Linked DNA regions of Homo sapiens: regions 1, 2, 3, 4, 5 and 6 are each linked to region 7. Evidence: promoter capture Hi-C in 16 types of primary human blood cells and fetal thymus (Javierre and others, 2016). All regions are on one chromosome and are shown on one strand. The core of a region is centred on a gene start or on the middle of the fragment in contact, and the rest is flanking DNA. Distances in the headings are between cores, read along the strand shown. Region 1 holds the start of AVPR1A (arginine vasopressin receptor 1A). Region 2 has its middle 3.9 kb from the start of TMBIM4. Region 3 has its middle 57 kb from the start of AVPR1A. Region 4 holds the start of HELB (DNA helicase B). Region 5 has its middle 18 kb from the start of LLPH. Region 6 overlaps TMBIM4 (transmembrane BAX inhibitor motif containing 4). Region 7 holds the start of C12orf56 (chromosome 12 open reading frame 56).

Region 1 (2,805 bases), core at 265-2,764, 1.2 Mb before region 7:
GGTGCGACTCTTATGTACACATAGAAGTTTAAAAACTACTGCCCTAGAAGATACTATGAAGAAAATTGCTAGATTCTCATTTTTTTCTCTCTCTCTCTCTCTCTCTCTCTCTCACACACACACACACACACACACACACACTCCTATCCCTGCACTTTCCTCTATTTTCCCGGCACGTACCGGTCCAGACGGACATGGGATCCCAGACAGACCACATCTGGATGATGAAGAAAGGCGCCCAGCAGACGATGTAAGCCGTCACGATCACAAAAGTCATCTTCACCGTGCGGATCTTGGCCCGGGAAATGGACTTCACGCTGCTGACACAGGGTGCGAGCAGGAACCCCTTTTGGAAGGCCACACCCGCTTGCTCTGCACCCTTGCTCTGGCGCGACGCCGTCTTCCCGCGGACGTTGCACCAGATGTTGTAGCAGATGAAGCCGTAGCAGGTACCCAAGATGACCACGGGCGCCACAAAGATGCCGCCCGTCATCCAGGTCACGTAGGCACGAGAACCCCAGGGCTGGATGAAGGTGGCCCAGCAGTCGCGGGCCTTGGTGACATTGTTCACCTCGATCATGGAGAAGACGAAGTACTGCGGCGTGCTCAGCACGAAGCTCAGCACCCAGGCGGCCGCGATCATGAGGCGCGAGCGGCGCGCGGGCTGTTGCAGAGTCTTGAGCGGGTGGCACACCGCGATGTAGCGGTCGGCTGTCATGACTACCAGCATGTAGGCCGACGCAAACATGCCGAACACCTGCAGGTGCTTCACCACGCGGCACAGCCAGTCGGGGCCGCGGAAGCGGTAGGTGATGTCCCAGCACATTTGCGGCAGCACCTGGAAGAATGCCACGGCCAGGTCGGCCAGGCTGAGGTGTCGGATGAAGAGGTGCATGCGGGACGTCTTGCGCGGCGTCCGGTGCAGAGCCAGCAGTACGCTGCTGTTGCCCAGCACGGCCACCGCGAAAGTCACCGCCAGCACGGCGATCTCCAGTTTGGCCAGCTCCTCGTTGCGCACGTCCCTCGGTGGGCCGTTGCCCTCCCCGAGGGCTTCGGCCTCCCGGCTTGTGTTGCCAGCGCCGGTGGCCAGAGGCCACCATGGGCTGGAGTTGCCCGAGGGCCCCGCGTCGGGACCGGCGGAGAGACGCATGCTGTCCATGCAGCTCCTACTCGGCCCTCTTCGGAGCTCCAGCCCTCGCGGGCCGCTCCCTCCCCGTCTCGGAGGACTTGGGCTCCTCGTCCGAAGCGCAGGGTCTTTGGCGCGCTCGCAGCTTGCCGGGCTCTGCGATCCCTCCAGTGGGCGTCTCCCGGAGCAGCGTCCCGCCTGCCCACTGAGCAGCTCTCAGCAGGGTGAGCTGGCCCCTCTCCCTGCTCTGCCTTTTTTCAACTTCGGCGAGGTCGGGAAGGTGAGCTCCGAGCTTCCGGAAGCACTGGGTTCCCAACTCAAGTATTTATGCGGTGCTTGTTTCCTTGGGACGCGCTCCCTCCCGCCCTATTGCCGGAAGACTGCTGGTTGCCTACTCCCCGCTCCCTGGAGTTTTATTTTTTCCTCTCCCTACGTCGGTGTTTGTCCTCTGCATCACTGTGGAGGGGGTGGAGCTGGGAGACTCGCAGATTCCTCCTCACAGTAGGTGGGATCGTGGCGCTTTCCCGCTTTTCCCTTCCAAAAACTTGGACAACTGGACGAGTCATGCCTTTTCTGGGCTCGTAGCCGTTTCCACAAGCTTCCCTCACTAGCCTTCCTCGCTAGCCTCCTTAACCATGCATTTGACTTCAACAGGCACGCTAAGCGCGGTACCTGGAAACCTCCAGTCCACGCACCGGCGTCCACGCATCTAGCTCCTGCACCTGAACCTGGCTCTCGACCTCACCTCCTCCAGTCCGGGTTTCTTCCTTCTCACCGAGCTCACCCGTGCAGCAGTCTGGCAAATTTTATTCCCCAGGCAAATTTTCCCGGGGCAAACATTTCTCCCCGCTCGTGACTTAAAGAGCTATCTCTTCCTAGTAACGTCTTTGATGCATGCTATTTATTACCCTATGTTTGCGACGGGAAGAACGCACTCATCACTTTGCAGCCCCAGTGGCTGCTGTGCCTGTATTCACAGCGGGGTTTGGGGGGAGTGTCTCCTGGTTTTCTCTATGGAGACTAGGGACTTAAGGAGTTTTCTCTAGATTCCTGGGGTTTTCTGCGGGAAAAGCCTGATTCCCACAGCGGGGATGGCGGAAATTTGGCCGCAGTGGTCCGTGGGGACCGTCTGGTTACTACTGAGTCGTGGGGACATCTTTTTGGGTGGACAAAGAGCAGCTGCCGGACAGCGGCCATCCAGGCAGTGCTGTCCAGGGCAAGGGACAGAAAACCCGCCCGGCTCCTGTGCTCAGGAGTAAGAAAGAGGCAATCTCAAAGAGAGGAAAGAGGCCCTGGGAAGGAGGGGAAACAACCACCTACCTAGTAATCCGTTACTCTGAACAGCTGGAGCCCCTCTGCAGGGCGGGAGGGAGGCAGAAATGCGATCTCCCTCAGCTCTGTTTTAACGTTGGTGAAGATATGCCTCGACGGACAGCAAGGGGGAGCTGTTTTCAGGCAATTTTACAAGGAAGAAAGGAAGCCGTTTCTGCAGTTATCTGCTGTGTAGATGCAGGAGCATGACTTTGTTGGTCAGAACGTTTCAGTATTGTGGCCGTGGTATAAATTTAATTGCCTCAGAAAAATATCACCCTCTGTGAAACGTAGGCAAAAAATGCAAAAGATTTTATTCATTGCAGTTCTCAGTAATAATTCCACTTTACTATCCAGTCCGTTCATGC
Region 2 (2,700 bases), core at 160-2,659, 1.8 Mb after region 7:
GCGAAACTCCACCTCAAAAACAAAAAAAAAGAAGGAAAAAAGACTGAAACAGGAACCTAACACACACACACACACACAGCCAAGTGGCTAATATATGAAAAGTTGATCAGAGAAATGTAAATAAATGCCAAAATTAGATATCTCTAAGCACCCACCAAATGATTAAAATTAAGAGATTGATAATATCAAGTGTTGGCAAAACTGGATTATCTAGAACTCAAATAAGAGCTGACTTAAAAGGTGTGCAACCTATGCTATTGCACAGAGCCCTGGACTCCGAAGGACTCTGCACTTGGTTTAATGCTCAGCTGTCACCATTTTGAAATACTTAGTAATTTTGCCTTTGAACATGTGTTTTGTAAGTGAAGTCTGAAAGTACAATGGAACATGAACATGAATAGAAGAGGTATGCACAATGTGGATGTCCACTGTTTCCTGCCAATCATTTGCATTTAAGCATTTAGCATGCCCCATGAGCTCAGAATTCTGTTAGACCTGCAATGTTTGGGAGTTAAGCTAGACTCAAAGCTAGTAAAAGATAAGCATGTCACACTTGTGACTTAGTAAAGGGAAGAGAAGAGAAGGCACAGACAGCCCCAAGAGGCCTAGCTTTCCTTACCGAGGAGAACTTACTTTGAATGCAGAAGGAAAGCAATGACGTTTTAAGAAACATGAATGACCAAGGAATCTTTTCACATCCTTTTTTTTTTCTTAATAGGGTCTTGTTCTGTTGCCCAGGTTGGAGGGCAGTGGTGCAATCATAGCTCTCTGCAAACTCCTGGGCTTAAGGGCTCACCCCATCTTAGCATCCTTAGTAGCTAAGACTACAAATGCATGCCACCATGCCCAACTAATTTTTTTTTTCCGAGATGGAGTTTCCCTCTTGTCCAAACTAGAGTGCAATGGCGCAGGTCTCAGCTCACTGCAACCTCCGCCTCCCGGGTTCAAGCAATTCTCCTGCCTCAGCCTCCCAAGTACCTGGGATTATAGGCATCCGCCACCACTCCCGGCTAACTTTTTTGTATTTTTTGTAGAGACTGGGTTTCACCATGTTGGCCAGGCTGGTCTCAAGCTCCTGGCCTCAGGTTATCCGTCCACCTCAGCCTCCCAAGTGCTGGGATTACAGACGTGAGTCACCGTGCCCGGACCTAATTTCTTAAATTTTATGAGACAGGGTCTTGCTGTGTTTCCCAGGCTGGTCTTGAGCTCCTGGCCTCAAGCAATCCTCCAGCCTTGGCCTCACAAAGCTCTGGGATTACAGGCTGTCACATCCTTTTTTTTTTTTTTTTTTTTTTTTTTGAGATAGAGTGTTGCTCTATTGCCCGTCTGGAGTGCAGTGGCGCGATCTCGGCTCACTGCAACCTCCGCCTCCTGGGTTCAAGCGATTCCCCTGCCTCAGCCTCACGAATAGCTGGGACTACAGGCACCCGCCACCATGCCCGGCTAATTTTTTTGTATTTTAGTAGAGACGGAGTTTCACCATATTGGCCAGGATGGTCTTGATCTCCTGACCTCGTGATCTGCCCGCCTCTGTTCCCAAAGTGCTGGGATTACAGGCGTGAGCCGCCGTGCCCAGCCCACATAGTTTTTTACTTGTGTTCTTTCCCTGTAAATGTCAACCACTTACACTCAAAGACACGGAAGGAAAGGGAAAGATATGGCAATCATAGTTCCTTTTCTTTTCAGGTTATCCTTTGCAATAAGCTGAAGGTAGAGAGTGTTGATATAGTTTGCATGTATGAAGAAGTGAAATAAAAATAATTGATTTAATTTTGTGTGAATTTTCCACAGTTCTTATAAGAATGAAATAAATATGTACAAGCTATGAAATACAAATCGTGTCATTTTGGTGATTCCACATATGCATTAAACGCCCTTTTAAATTTGTATTTAAAACTATCATTGCCTCCCTCCTCCCTCGCCCTCACCTTTGGTCTCCCTCTGTTGCCGAGGCTGGACTGTGCTGCTGTGGTCTCGGCTCGCTGCAGCCTCCCTGCCCCAGGCTCCCGTGGTTCTCCTGCCTCGGCCTGCCAAGTGCCTGGGATTGCCGGTGCGCGCCACCACGCCTGACTGGTTTTTGTATTTTTGGAGGAGACGGGGTTTTGCCCTGTTGACCAGGCTGGTCTCCGGCTCCTGACCTCGAGTGGTCTGCCCGCCTCGGCCTCCCGGGGTGCTGGGATTGCAGACGGAGTCTCGCTCACTCAGTGCTCAGTGTTGCCCAAGCTGGAGTGCAGTGGCGTGATCTCCGCTCGCTGCAACCTCCACCTTCCAGCCGCCTGCCTTGGCCTCCCAAAGTGCTAAGATGACAGCCTCTGCCCGGCCGCCACCCCGTCTGGGAACTGGGGAGCATCTCTGCCTGGCCGCCCATCGTCTGGGATGTGGGGAGCCCCTCTGCCCGGCTGCCCCGTCTGGGAAGTGAGGAGCGCCTCTGCCTGGCGGCCCTTCGTCTGGGAGGTGGGGAGCGCCTCTGCCCGGCCGCCCCGTCTGGGAGGTGAGGGGCGTCTATGCCCGGCCGCCCCATCTGGGAGGTGAGGAGCGCCTCTGCCTGGCTGCCCATCGTCTGGGAGGTGAGGAGGGCCTCTGCCCGGCCGCCACCCCTTCTGGGAAGTGAGGTGCGCCTCTGCCTGGCCGGCCGCCCCGTCTGGGAATTGAGGAGCGCCTCTGCCCGGCCGCCTGGTCTGGGAAGTGTACCCAACAGCT
Region 3 (2,788 bases), core at 237-2,736, 1.3 Mb before region 7:
GGTCTTCTGACCACGGATTGTGATCAACAGAACGTAATATTACAAGTTAAAATGCTGAAGCCTCCTGATAAGGAGCTGGTAAAATATACAACACAGTCTTCAGAAGACTGCTGGGAAAAGACTTGTTGAATGATAATAAAAACTCAGGAGACAAGGCCTTGTCTCCTGAGTTTTGATTCTACTTGACTCTGGGAAGAAAGTATGTTTGAAATGTGGAAAACAGTCAGGACTTGAATTTCAGAAGGCTGCATCATAGCATATTACAGCAGAAAATTAACTCTGAAGGAATTACAATGTGGAAATAAAATTAAGAGAGAGGCACTGAAGATGAGGATGCTGAAATGATCTTGACTTCAGGGAATGGCATGCCTTTGAATTCAACAACCAGTAGTCACACTGAAATATTAACAATCATTCTTCACAGTGTGCACTTATGGGGCAGGATGTAGAACTGCATTATTCTCTCTGAAATGACTCCACCCCATTCTCTTAAAGTAGTAATACTGTTATGGAGTAATGGGAGCTAGGTGACTTTCAGTTACATTTACTTTCAGAAAGTAAATGGTGGACTTATAGGAAATTAGCTGATAAAAGTTCATGAAACAACACACTCATCAGGGACATGCTGAGTGCTGATACTCTGTGGGCAATCCCCAACTGTGGGTGAAGTTGACCTGTTACCTATGCAACATCAATTTTTTTTTCCTTCCACCTTCTAACAGTACCCAAACTTCTCTTTGGGACATCACTGTTCTCCCTACTGTGTAGTAGCCCTATAATTCTGCTGCATTGACCCACCTCCAGCTGCTTACCCCAGAAGGATACTCTCATCTTCCACGACACAAAAATTGGTTGAGGGAACCCAGGTCTGAGTCAATCAGTGCATGATATGACAATGACCACATGGGTGGCTCAATCTATGTGAAGCTCTAGGGCTTCGTGGATATGAAAAAGGAAGCAGGCAGTTCTGGTTGCTGTTGGCAGCCATCTTTTGATCATGAGAGCAGCTAGTTTGCAGACTAAGCCCATATAAGAAGGAGAGAGAGCCAAGAGAGCTGCAGACAAGTGGAGCCAGAGTCCTGATCAAACCAGATTCACTGCCTGCCTTTCCCAGGGAATTTCCAACTCCATGGTACAGCAGATCCCTTTTATAGTTTGCTAGTAGGTTTGTTTGTTAGGTCATTGGTTGGTTGCTTGTTTGCTTCGCTGAGGTAGGGGGATGAACAGAAGTGTAAAGCTTGGTTCTATGTCTTTACATTTACACAAGTATTAACTTTAGTTCTCTATCCTTAATTGTGGACTGACTGGGTTTTTTCCCTTACCGTTTTCTAGCAGGCAATACTATCAAGATAATTTTTTTTTCCTTTTTAATTTGTAGATATTTCATGCTGAAAAATCTGACATTCTTTTTCAGGGTCTATTGAGGGGAAAACAAGATGGCCCTTAATGCCTGAGAGAGCAGGGAGAAAGACTTTCAGACTGTAGGGAGGCCAGAGCTTCCTCTGATTCATTCCCCAACCACAATCCTGTTCCAAGGCTTCCCTAGACGTCAAGACATCATTTTATGTACATTATTAAGAGGTTGGTCCTTGAGCTTAAGACTTCTCCATCAGTGTGATTCAGACCAGTATAAAGATACCCGAGTAAGTGATGAAGTGGGTCTGTCATGAGCTTACATGCACAGAGGGCTGAGAGTCTTCTAGGGGAGATCTAATTCTCTGGGAAGTCCAGGAAACAAGCTTGATATAGTGAAGAAACCCATAATTTTTAGAGCAGAGACATGATTCAGAGCACAGCTCCATGTGGACTCACATGTAGTTCCTGAGATGGGAAAGAAAGGGCTGTGGGTAAGAAATGAAGGAAGCTAAAAAGGAAGAAAGGGGGAGGGGTGGGGATGGAAGGAAAGGAGAAAGAATGTGGCTGGGTGTGAGTGATCTTCAGGGGCTGAGATTCTGCTGCTTTTCCTGATGTAGCTGTGTCTCTAGCCTGGTCAGGGTAATGGTGAACCCAGAAGTGCTGACAATTAGTTAAAACAAACAAAAAAAGCAAACACCCCCAAACTCCATGATGATAAAATAAAAAGGAATCAGATAACAGCAGAAAATATTGCTAGAGACTACAGCAGAAATTGTAGCTAGAAATATCACCTAGAAGAAAGGCTGCAATTTCATATAAAATTACTGGTTCTTCAAACATTTACCAGGTATCAAAACTGCTCTCACTGGAAAAAATGTGGGAAAAAACTTTGTTCCCTTCTAGTGCAAAATGCTTGCAATGTAATGTTTTTGTAGAAGAATACCAGCTGTAGGTGATTTTTTTTCTTTTCTTTCTCTGTTTTTGTTTTTTTGAGATGGATCTCATTCTGTTGCACAGGCTGGAGTGCAGTGGCACAATCTCAGCTCGCTGCAACCTCCGCCTCCCAGGTTCAAGCGATTCTCCTACCTCAGCCTCCCAAGTAGCTGGGATTACAGGAGCCCACCACCGCGCCTGCCTAATTTTTGTATTTTTAGTAGAGATGGGGTTTCACCATGTTGGCCAGGCTGGTTTTGAATTCCTGGCCTCAGGTGATCTGTCCACCTTGGCCTTCCAAAGTGCTGGGATTATAGGCATGAGCCTCCACGCCCAGCAGGTGATTTTTCTTCAAAAGCAATTCTGGTGTCAAGGAAAAATAGATCCCAGAGGAAATTACCTTGGTGTGATGGTAGCCTCCAACTTTACTCCAGTCAAGCTATCCTAGATGTCACAGGACAGAAAGTCTCAAGGACTAAATTTAGATGCTCAAATCGCA
Region 4 (2,880 bases), core at 1-2,500, 1.9 Mb after region 7:
ATCTCCCAGCCCCTCGCTCTCCCTTCCCCGCCCCTAACCCGCCTTGCCCCGCCCCTTCCACATGCCCTCCCCTCGGCAATTCCTGGAAACTTGGGGCGGAGCTTCGCTGCCTTTCAGGTTTTATGTACGCTGGCGGCCGCCAGGCCGTTCCCGGAAGTTGATGGCCTTACAGTCGTAGAACTGATTGGCTGATCATGACCATGCAGTTAGCCAGGGTTTTCCCGAGTTGTTTGGGTTGAGTTCAGGAGAAGCATGGCCAGGTCGAGTCCGTACCTGCGCCAACTTCAGGGACCTCTGCTCCCACCCAGGGATCTGGTGGAGGAGGACGACGACTACCTAAACGACGACGTGGAGGAGGATGAAGAGTCCGTGTTCATCGACGCCGAGGAGCTCTGCAGTGGGGGCGTAAAGGCTGGCAGCCTCCCCGGGTGCCTCCGCGGTGAGGAAGGCGTCTGCCCGGGGGATGGGGTTGGAGGGTCCAAAGTAGCGCTTCCCATTCTGGCTTTGCCCTGAGCAAGGCACCCAGTCGTGCTAACAGATTTAGCTTATCAGTGGTCTAGCTGCTTCATCCTACCAAGGGTAAAATTATGACTATAATAATAGCAGTGACTTTAACTGGACACATACTATGTGGTTTTTTTTTTTTTTTCTTTTTTTGAGCAGCAGCAAGATTTATTGCAAAGAGCGAAAGAACAAAGCTTCTACAGTGTGGAAGGGGACCCGAGCGGGTTGCCCTTTTTTTTTTTTTTTTTTTTTAAAATTATTCTCATTTTAATGGTCGTCCTTTAATTTAATGTACCTTTAATGTAAGGTAGTTTTACGCTTAAGGAAACAGTGGATGTTGAGTCTCTATTTCCACCCAGAATCGGAACTTTTATTTTTCCTTCTGACCACTTATCCTCAAGTTCTATAGAATGAGAACTTGTAATTATTATCCTATATTGCCTGGAGTCAAATACGTGGTTCTTCCTCAGCTTCTTGGAAAAACAAAACAGTCCGGGCGCGGTGGCTCACGCACTTTGGGAGGCCGAGGCAGGTGGATCACTTGAGGTCAGGAGTTCGAGACCAGCCTGACCAACATGGTGAAACCTGTCTCTAGTAAAACAACAACAACAACAACAAAACTACAAAATTAGCCGGGCGTGATGTCGCACACCTGTAATCCTAGCTACTTGGGAGGCCGAGGCAGGAGAATTGCTTGAACCCAGGAGGTGGGGGTTGCAGTGAGCTGAGATCACACCATTGCACTCCGGCCTGGGCAACAAGAATGAAACTCCATCTCAAAAAACGAAAAGGAAAGAAAAGAAAAAGAAAAACGAAACACAAGGAACACCTCAGTGCACAGATGATTGTTAATTGGTGTTAGTAACCTTGTGGTTCGGGTAAACCTTGTATAAGTAGTTTCCTGTGCTATGAGGTAGTTTCCTGTGCTATAAGTTATACCTGTTATGTATACTTTGTGACTGAGACTTAAAATATTTTAATGTGCCGACCGGTGCTGTTCAGTAGAACTTTCCATGATCATGGCAGTGTTTTATATCTGCACTGTCTGGTATAATAGCCACTAGCCATATGTAGCTGTTTAGAACTTGAAATCCAGCTAGTGTAACTGAGGAGAGAAATTTTAAGTTTTATTACATTTTAATTTAAATAGCCACGTGGGTGGACAGCGCAGATTTAGGCAGAAAAGTTTCAAGTATTTGTGGAGGGCTTAGTCGTCATTCTAAAGTATCATCAACTGGCTAGCATGTTTGGTGCTGGGAAAACCTAGAGAAATAAAATAACAAGGTTGCAGTCTTAATGAAGCTTACCCTCTAGTGTATTAAACAAACATTCTTTAATCACAGAAGTAACTATAATGTTACTAAATGCTTAGAAGGAATGCTAAATAGTGCTTTGAGAGGTTTTATACATGAGATTCAGGGAAGACTTTTCTAAGTAAGTGATAGTTAAGCTGAGGTCTGTAGTAAATGTAGTAAACAGTAAAGGGGAGATCAGTTAAGGCAGATGGAATAACTTGAGTGAAGGGCCATGGCATTTTAAAGAAACTGCATGAAGGCCAGTATTGGCTGAAGTCAAGAGTAGCAGAGAGGGGACTGATTTTAGAAGAGGAACAGCAGACACCTGCTGTGTACTGTGCTTGCGTTTTGGAATACAAAGACAAACGAAACAGTGTCCTGTTTTAGTATTTACAGTGTAGTGGAGGGAGACAGAAAAAGAGGTAGGCAGAATGCAGTGTTACAGGCACCCTACCAGACATCTTTAGAGAGTGCTGTAGGGAGATTAAAGATAGTGGTAAGTTTGATGAAACTTTGAGGAAACGGTTTCTAAATAATCTCCAGAGTTAACTTTTGTGGGTTTTTGTTTGTTTTTTTTTAGTTTCTATTTGTGATGAAAACACACAAGAGACATGTAAAGTGTTTGGACGTTTTCCGATAACAGGTGCTTGGTGGAGAGTGAAGGTACAAGTAAAGCCTGTGGTGGGATCAAGGAGCTATCAATATCAAGTTCAAGGATTTCCGTCTTACTTTTTGCAGTCTGATATGTCACCACCAAATCAAAAACATATCTGTGCTCTCTTTCTTAAAGAGTGTGAGGTCTCCAGTGATGATGTTAATAAATTTTTAACATGGGTAAAGGAGGTATCAAACTACAAAAACCTAAACTTTGAAAATCTTAGGGAAACACTAAGAACTTTCCACAAGGAAACTGGAAGGAAAGATCAAAAGCAGCCTACACAGAATGGTCAGGAAGAGTTGTTCCTAGACAATGAGATGAGTCTTCCTCTGGAAAACACAAGTAAGTGTGATTTTTATCATCAACTTTCAGTGTAATTGACATACTTAATAACTACAGTGTTTAAAATGTTACCACTAGCAT
Region 5 (2,700 bases), core at 40-2,539, 1.7 Mb after region 7:
AGGGGTGGAGGGAGGGGAGAATGGGGGGTAATTGTTTAATGGGTGCAGAGTTTCTGTTTGAAATGATAAAAAATTCTGGAAACAGTAGTGACAGTGGTGATGATTGCACCACGCTGTGAAGGTACTTAATGCCACTGAATTGCACACTTAGAAATCGTTAAAAAGATAAATGTTTATGTTTGTATATTTTACCACAATAAAATATCTACTGTTTTCTCTCAGGAAAAAGCAGTAGAAGCCAAGATGCCCTGGCAGTGACAGCCATGGAGTGTGTGAGGAAAAGAGATTACAGAGCGTAAGTGGCATGGGTTTACCTAAGGCAGTTTCCTCCCAGGGCCGGTCAGTGTGTGTCAAACAAAAGGGACTGTCTAGCTAGAGATCACTTTAGAAGTGTCTGACCCATCTAAAGGCAACAATCTCATCAAAAAAACAAAGCAGAACACTGTACAAAGTCTCTCCAGGGCAAGGGTACCAATTTGTCACTCCTGGTATTAGACATCAATATAATGTTAGACCTGCCAGATTGCAGTGGTTGTGAAATCAACTGGAAGTGAAGAAATGGAAGAGAGTATGCTAAGAAGCTTCAATTTGGTCTTGCAGCCATGGGAAGTTTCCTAGCAGGAGAATGACTTACTGAAAGGAATGTTTTAAAAGGCTTAAATTTTACAACCCTTCAAGGGTACCCCAGACAAGCACTCACTCACTCCTGGAAGGATTACTAATTGTTTCAGCCTTTCAGGAGAGCAGTTTGGCAATACAGATAAGGAGTCTTAAAGAAAAGTTCATACTCTTCTAGAACCCTTCCTCAAGAATATAATCAGATAAGGATTAGACTTACATGTAAGGTCATTAATATTACAGAGAAGTATTTTAATAGCAAAAATAAAAAGTTTTTTCAGAAAAAAATTAAATGTCCAAAAGTAGACAAATAAAAAAATATATAGTTTATCACAAGACAGAATGAGGGAACTTTTCAAACAACACTCTTAAAAAATTTCCAGCAGCATGGGAAAAAAATCCCCATGATATAAAGTTAAGAAAGCAGAATATAAAATTATACAGTATTAAGACAATTATGAAAATATACACAGAGCTACACATTCTCTGGGTGGTTGGATTATGAATTATTTATTTCATTTATACTTTCTTGGGTTTTAAAATTTTCTCCAACATACATGTGTTACTTTTATGAGAAAAAACAACAAAAGTTATGGAAAGAAAAAGAAGTTGACAACCACACAAGATGAATTAGAAGGGAAAGAGTAGAGACAAAAACAAAAAAAATCTGGCCTTTGATGGAGGGCATGGGGGAGGGGGGAAGTTTGTTACTGCTGTTTTGTTTTGTTTCAAGTAAAAGATGTTATACTACCTGTGGAACAAAGAGGCACAGCCACCAATGGGAAAGGATTGGTTATTAACTACGGCAGAAACAGACCTACAGAAAAGATCACTAGTCACACACCATAGCTTTATTTAACAACCCCTCTTTTATAGAAAAGAATACAATTAATTTTGACATTAGTCCAAATGTTATTATTTGTGTGGTTAATTGTCACCTATTTATGGTTTTGAAAAAGATTGGTCTGTGAATACAAAGACTCTTGGGCTCCTGGTCTCTGCCATGAACTACTAACCTCTTGGGGAAATTGGCCTCAGTTTCCTCATCTGTTAAGAAGCACAAGTTAAAATAGATGATCTCTAAAACGTTTTCCAGCCTTAAATGCTATGACTATTTTAGTCCATATTAATTTCCTATTAATGAAACCAACCTGTAAGTGTATTTTCAGCTAGACCACCCACCAAATCAAACTAAATTGGAATGTCTTTACATGTGCCAGTATTCTAGGTGCCATATTAAATTAAAACAGAGTTCTTTCTCCAGCATTTAACATTTTCAAAAATTGTTTGTAGACTTAAGGGAAAAGTGAGTTATGAGATTTGTGAAAAAAGCTCTACAATGGGACAATCTTTTTTTTTTTTTAAGTCCAAAGACTAAAAGAAGCTTAGTTGAGGTGGCAGATGGGGAACACACCTAAACATACAAACAACCTTTTGGTACCACCTGCCTTGCATTGATACAGAGTGAGGGTAAGCTTGTCTATTTTTTTTTTTTTTAATACAACTGCCTTCCAATAAGAAACTTGGAGGGATTCTCCAAATATAAAATGCAACAGGATGGAAACATAAAACCAGATCCAACTCACCTGAATTTTCAAATAAAGAACAAAAGCCTTCATTTAACAAACAGAAAATATTTTATTTTTTTACTTTTCATTTTTCTTTTCAGTAGTGGTACTTCTTGCTATAGAAAATATTTTAAAGCAGCAGTCTGCAAACTTTTTCTTAAAAGGCCAAATTTTAATTTAGGCTTTGCTGATTATACAAGAATCTCTGTCACAACTATTCAGTTCTGCCTTTGTAGCACAAATTATTCACAGACAATTCATGGACATGTGGACATGGCTTTGTGCCAATAAAACTTTTTTACAAAAACAAAGGGCCAGCCCATTTGCATACTATCTTAGTCTATTTTCTGTTGCTATAACAGAATACCTGAGACTGGATAATTTATAAAGAAAAGTGATTTACTTAGCTCAGAGTTCTGGAGGCTGGAAAGTCCAAGATCAGGTTAGCGCATCTGGTGAGGGCCTCTTGCTGCTCCATAGCATGGCAGAAAAGAGGACGGGCAAGTGAGCCTGT
Region 6 (2,841 bases), core at 141-2,640, 1.8 Mb after region 7:
GTCAGCCAAATATCAAGTTAAAAAAACAAAATCTTTCACAGGAATAAGGGAATTTTCATGAATACTAAGGATTTAATAATCAAAATGCCTAAATATTAAACTTAATTTTTCCCTCTGGCACTCTTTCCAAAATCTAGAGTGAGTTTTTCCTGATGTCCTAAACAGATTTTACTGGGCATATGATTTAACCACTGACTCATAAGAACACTGAGTGTCCATTGTATTTTGGCTTAGAGATAAACAGTTCTCAACTCCACAACAGATCTATGACTTACTTTCTCAAAAAGGCCCTGATGTCTGAATGCTTTGGGAGGTCATTTCTATCTTTTTCATAAAAGCAGAGTAAAGAATATACTACTGGCATGGACAATGTTATTTGGGATATCTTTCTGCAAATTTAATTATTAAACCAAAGGTCAAGCCATTACACCTGCAAGGGATTTTCTGGGCTATGAGAAAAAAAATCATATTCTTTACACTACAGCCTCCATGTCCTGGATTCAAGCCATCCTCTAGACTCAGCCTCCCAAGCAGCTGGGAATACAGGCCCACACCAGGATGGGGTGTGTGTGCACACGTGTGAGAGAGAGAGAGAGAGAGAGAGAGGCAGGGTCTCACTCTGTCACCCAGGCTTAAGTGCAGTGGCATGATCATGATTCACTGCAGCCCCAATCTCCAGGGCTCAAGCAATTCTCCTAACTCAGCCTGCCCAGTAGCTAGTACTACAGGTGCATGCCACTACGCCCAGCTAATTTTTTTGTAGAGATGGGGTTTTACCACATTCCCGGGCTGGTCTTGAACCCCTGGGCTCAAGTGATCCACCCACCTTGGCCTCCCAAAGTGTTGGGATTACAGGCAGGAGCCACCGTGACTGGCCCTGGAATGTATTCTTTACTTTTGATACCCTATTATGTACCTCATATAACTCAAACCCAATCCATATGATATATATTCTCTCAAGCAGTGGAAATTAGTGTTATTTCTTACCATTTTGTAAAACTGATTTACAGTTCAAAACAATGTGCACATTAAGATCTAATGTTTATTTGTATATATGTACACAAGTGCATATGTAATAAAAGACTAGAATAATATACATCCAGGTGTTCGTATACCCTGGGCAGTAGTACTAAGGATAATTTTCATATTCAGTTCTTTACTAATCTGTATTTTTTAGATACCAGCAGTATGTATTACTATTGCAATTAAAAACATTTTAAAGAAACTCGTGCTAAGCCTTTAAGTTCATACTAAAAAATTCTCCTTATGCAGATATTCCAGACCATAACTTTTTCTATACTTTAGTATCATAAGCCAAATCCCAGGCAAAAGCAGTATTGACACCCATTGTGAATAATATAAAAAGTAGCAAAGGACATGCATATACAGCTTTCAGGAAAATATAAAAGATTCAATATGAAAAGAATACTAGTCAAACAGCAAGATTTTCCAATTTTTGTTGAGTCCTGATTTCTTCCCTTCTATTTGACATCTCAAAACTTAACATGGCCAAAACTGGAGCTCTTCATTTATCCAAATTTGCTGTTCTCCCAGTGTTCTCATCGATAACCAGCACCAACATCATCCAAGCCAAAAACATAGAAGTCATCTTTGATTACCCCCTCCCTGTTCCCAATCTATCAGCAACTACTGTAGTTCTACCTTTGAAAGTACAACGTATCTGCCTCTTTTGGTCTCCTCTGTTACCTCCCTAGTCAAAGTGTGCCTAATCTCTCACCTGGACCACTGGAGGAACCTTCTGATTGGTCCCCATGCTTTCACTCTTGTCCCACCTATTTCTCCACACACTCTGTCAAAGTGATTTTTATGTAAAGTAAACCATATCATGTGACTCTGCTTAAATACTTAAATAATCGTTCCACTTAAAATAAAATGTGAAAGATTTTATAGGACCTACAAGGTCCCACATGATGTAGAACCTTTCCAATCTCATCTCAGCACTCTCTCTCTTCCTCACCATGCTTTACCCACATTAGTCACTTTCCCGCTTCAGGGCCTTTGCACTTGCTCTTTCCTCTACTTGGAATGCCCTTATCATTCTTTACATGAAGTAGTGGTTTATGGTAAGTCACAGTTCTTTGACACTCCCTTCAAGTGAGTCCTAACAAAAAGAATGATGCAAAAGTGGCAGGGTGCTACTTCTAAGACCAAGTCATAAAAGGGATTATGGCTTCCTCCTGCTCTTTCTTGGATCATTTCCTCTGGGACAGTGTTTCTCAACCTTGTTTTCATTATTCCCCGCCTAAGTAGCCTTCTAGGTACTTTTTTCCTAATAGCCCCCTCAATAAAATTTTAATGCCACAAATATACTATATATCTGTTGTACCATCGCCCTTTGGAAGGATATACACCATTATAAAATCTTAAGATTTTTTTTAGATCTTTACATCCAACTATCATCTAATGGGGTCAATAGCACCCCATTAAGAATGCATACTCAGGGAAGGCCAGCTATGTTGTGAGGAAACTAAGGGCACCCTATGGAAAAACACATGTGGGAGGAAAGTGAGGTCTCCTGCCAACAGCCAGTGAGAAACTAGGGACTCCTATGAATAGCCCTGTGAGTAGCCTGCCTGGGAGCACATCCTTCACCCCCAGTCAAGCCTCCAGATGACCAGCACTAGCCAATATCTTGACCACAACCTAGGACAAACTCTAAACTAAAACTACCCATATTCCTGACTCTCAGAAACTGAGATAATGTTTATTCTTTTAAACCAATAAGGTTTAGGGTAATTTGTGACACAAACAGAATATATATCTTGGTACTTGGAAGTGGGGCGCTGCCATACCAAACACCTAAAATATGGGAGAGAGCCT
Region 7 (2,700 bases), core at 55-2,554:
CATTAACGCATCTGCTTATTCATGCATTTATTCTTTTGCTGGGGAGGGGGTGGAGGGGAACGGTGTCTCACTCATTCTGTAGCTCAGGCTGGAGTGCAGGTGGGGCGATCTCGGCTCACGGCAACCTCCGCCTCCCAGGTTCAAGCGATTCTTGTGCCTCAGCCTCCCAAGTAGTTGGGATTACAGGTGCACACGACCACGCCTGGGTAATTTTTGTACTTTTGGTGGAGACGGCGTTTCACCATGTTGGCCAGCCTGGTCTCGAACCCCTGACCCCCGGTGATCTATCCACCTTGGCCTCCCAAAGTGTAAGGATTATAGGCGTGATCCACGGCACCCGGCCTTATGCATTTATTCTTATTGAGCATCTAACATGCTCTAAGCATCGGGGGCAAAAAAGTAAATGAGATATAACAGCACTTAACACACAGCATTTATTTGCACGGGTGTTGGCTTTCTAGCCCTCCAGCGACTGCTTCTAGGTAGGGGCCCTCTTTCGTTTTTGCATCCTCCGAGTCTAGCACAGTGCCTGGCACTGACTAGGTGCTTTGTTAACAAAGGAATGACTTTAAAAGGTATTTTTGATAGGGAGCTCGGTTCTCAAACCTGTAGCCCTACGTGGGGTAGGGGAGGCGGGAGAATGGGTGAACAGGCAGACACGAGGAGAATGGGAGACGTGTTTGTATTAGGAGTGCTCACAGCAATCCACAGCTTCCCTGTGTTCCTCGTTCTCAAATAAGAGGAGGGGAGTCGAGGGCAGGATGGGGCAGCCCTCCCCGCGCAGGAGGGCTGGGTTTGGGGGCCCCAGCCGGGAGTTCTCACTGCGCTCCCGAGCCCGCCTGCCCACCCGCGCCGCTCACCAGGTCAATGGCCACGACGTCCCGCAGAGCCACTACCCGCCGGATGGACTTGGGCGGGTTCTCGGTTAGGTAGACGAGCCGGTCGCTTAGCACCACATACTTGAGGATGTGGTTCTCAGAGTTGGACACCACGATGCATGGCTCGTAGGCGCGGACCGCGTCGTAGACCTCGGGCGGCAGATGCCGCCGCAGGAACACATCCAGGCGGCTGTTCCTGCGCGCGGGGAAGCCGGACGGCAAGGGGCTGGCCATGCCCGGCGCCCGCAGCGTGGCGGAGTGCTGGGACTCGAGGCCCTCAGCTCGCCCTCTCCCCGCCCCCGCGCTGGAACCCGCGCGCCACAAAGCCGCCGGCCACGCGTCGCCTCCTCTCCAGGCGCGGGGACCCGGGCCGCAACTGCAGGAATCGACGCTAGGTCGGCTTCCCTGGAGCGCCCTCCCCAGCCCTGTCCAGCCTCTCGATCTTTGTCCTAACCTCAGACGGCGATGGGCGGGGCAAGACGCTGGTCCTTCAGGCCCGAGTTGATGGGCACCTCGGGCTCATCACCGTGAAGTCCCCTGCGGCCGAAGGGCGGTGGATTTTTAGGGTCTCTCCCGCCCACCCCTAATGCCAGTCCCCACCACTGCGTACTCTGTTGCGGATCACACCATCCAATACAAACTTTATTGGTAATGGAAGCCAGCTTCAATCTGGTTTCCTGTTAGAAACTTGAAAGAGTTTAATTTACCGATTTATTTTTAACAACCCTAGAAACCTATTAAACCCAATCACACAGATTTAGCTTTTGGTTATAACATGGCCTGGCACAGCTTTCTGATATTGTCGGAGTGTAAACATAGGTCTTCTTTCTCCAACCAGTGAGAAAGGGATTTTTTTTTTCTTTTCTCTTTTTTTTTTTGAGACGCAGCTTTGCTCTTGTTGCCCAGGCTGGAGTGCAATGGCGCCATCTCGGCTCACCGCAACCTCCCCCTCCCGGGTTCAAGCGATTCTCCTACCTCAGCCTCCTGAGTAGCTGGAATTACAGGCATGCGCCACCACGCCCAGCTAATTTTGTATATTTTAGTAAAAACGGGGTTTCTCCATGTTGGTCAAGCTGATCTCCAACTCCCGACCTCAGGTAATCCGCCCGCCTCGGCCTCCCAAAGTGCTGGGATTACAGGCGTTAAGTCACCTCGCCCAGCCTTTGAGAAAGGGATTCTTCACATGAATTGATGTGAGCACACCCAAACCAACCTAAGGCATATGGTTTTGTTTCCAATGCCCAGGACAATCTATGCAGGAAGAATGAATGGGTGATGCTGGCATCTTGAAAAGTTGAAGCTGATAGACTGAAGAATGCGGATTACATACCCTGAGGCTGCAGAGGAGTAAGTATTCCTTAGTTTTTACAGGCCAAGAATAACTTACTAATTAGGTTAGAGAAATGAGAAGGGCACAACAGAAATGCTCTAAGTCAGAAGTTCCATTTTTTATTTCGAATCCTAGAAAAGTTATTCTCTTCCCCTCCCCATTGACCCAAAAACCTGATAATGAAACCATATCGTTCATTGCTGTGGCTGCCAGCAACCCTGAATCAAATTTGATATATTCTTTATATTCTCCCTTTCTACATATTTTATTATTGTATACTGTATGTTATAAGCAACTTCAAATCCCTTGTGGAAAGAAGGTATAAATATATTACAATCCATAAACAGATATTGTAGACTACACTAGTACAAAGGGAAAGAGAAATGTTTTGGTCTGGCTAAACTTTTTTTTTTTTTTTTTTTTTGAGACAGAGTCTCCCTCTGTCACCCAGGCTGGAGTGCAGTGGCATGATATCGGCTCACTGCAGCCTCT

Evidence for each region. The method cuts DNA at HindIII sites, captures the fragments that hold promoters and counts their contacts. A CHiCAGO score of 5 or more calls a contact.
Region 1: the fragment with the promoter of AVPR1A here is called in contact with the fragment with the promoter of C12orf56 in region 7 in 1 of 17 cell types (M2 macrophages); the score reaches 5.8 in M2 macrophages.
Region 2: a contact is called between a fragment that was not itself captured here and the fragment with the promoter of C12orf56 in region 7, in 2 of 17 cell types (non-activated CD4 T cells and activated CD4 T cells). The highest score is 5.3, in non-activated CD4 T cells.
Region 3: a fragment that was not itself captured here is called in contact with the fragment with the promoter of C12orf56 in region 7 in 1 of 17 cell types (M2 macrophages); the score reaches 6.8 in M2 macrophages.
Region 4: a contact is called between a fragment that was not itself captured here and the fragment with the promoter of C12orf56 in region 7, in 1 of 17 cell types (activated CD4 T cells). The highest score is 8.7, in activated CD4 T cells.
Region 5: a contact is called between a fragment that was not itself captured here and the fragment with the promoter of C12orf56 in region 7, in 1 of 17 cell types (total B cells). The highest score is 5.6, in total B cells.
Region 6: a fragment that was not itself captured here is called in contact with the fragment with the promoter of C12orf56 in region 7 in 1 of 17 cell types (non-activated CD4 T cells); the score reaches 5.4 in non-activated CD4 T cells.

What each region holds. Positions count from the first base shown.
Region 1 is chr12:63,149,687-63,152,491 of GRCh38, forward strand. AVPR1A (arginine vasopressin receptor 1A) reads right to left here and starts at 1,515. Exons shown (of 2, transcript NM_000706.5): 1 at 181-1,515. The coding sequence starts at 1,150. The HindIII fragment of the contact is 3,248 bases long and covers 1-1,722 here.
Region 2 is chr12:66,172,512-66,175,211 of GRCh38, forward strand. No RefSeq gene overlaps it. Among named protein-coding and RNA genes, the nearest start is that of TMBIM4, 3.9 kb to the left of the region's middle. RefSeq lists silencers at 465-665, 2,313-2,515. The HindIII fragment of the contact is 4,498 bases long and covers 1-2,700 here.
Region 3 is chr12:63,092,353-63,095,140 of GRCh38, forward strand. No RefSeq gene overlaps it. Among named protein-coding and RNA genes, the nearest start is that of AVPR1A, 57 kb to the right of the region's middle. The HindIII fragment of the contact is 502 bases long and covers 1,236-1,737 here.
Region 4 is chr12:66,302,352-66,305,231 of GRCh38, forward strand. It overlaps HELB (DNA helicase B), which reads left to right and starts at 142. Exons shown (of 13, transcript NM_001370285.1): 1 at 142-439; 2 at 2,380-2,799. The coding sequence starts at 253. RefSeq lists enhancers at 212-261, 322-401, 1,033-1,132, 1,163-1,472. The HindIII fragment of the contact is 1,108 bases long and covers 697-1,804 here.
Region 5 is chr12:66,111,221-66,113,920 of GRCh38, forward strand. No RefSeq gene overlaps it. Among named protein-coding and RNA genes, the nearest start is that of LLPH, 18 kb to the right of the region's middle. The HindIII fragment of the contact is 1,421 bases long and covers 580-2,000 here.
Region 6 is chr12:66,154,755-66,157,595 of GRCh38, forward strand. The region is part of intron 1 of TMBIM4 (transmembrane BAX inhibitor motif containing 4); the gene reads right to left. Among named protein-coding and RNA genes, the nearest start is that of TMBIM4, 14 kb to the right of the region's middle. The HindIII fragment of the contact is 5,078 bases long and covers 1-2,841 here.
Region 7 is chr12:64,389,454-64,392,153 of GRCh38, forward strand. C12orf56 (chromosome 12 open reading frame 56) reads right to left here and starts at 1,305. Exons shown (of 13, transcript NM_001170633.2): 1 at 861-1,305. The coding sequence starts at 1,112. The HindIII fragment of the contact is 6,871 bases long and covers 1-2,700 here.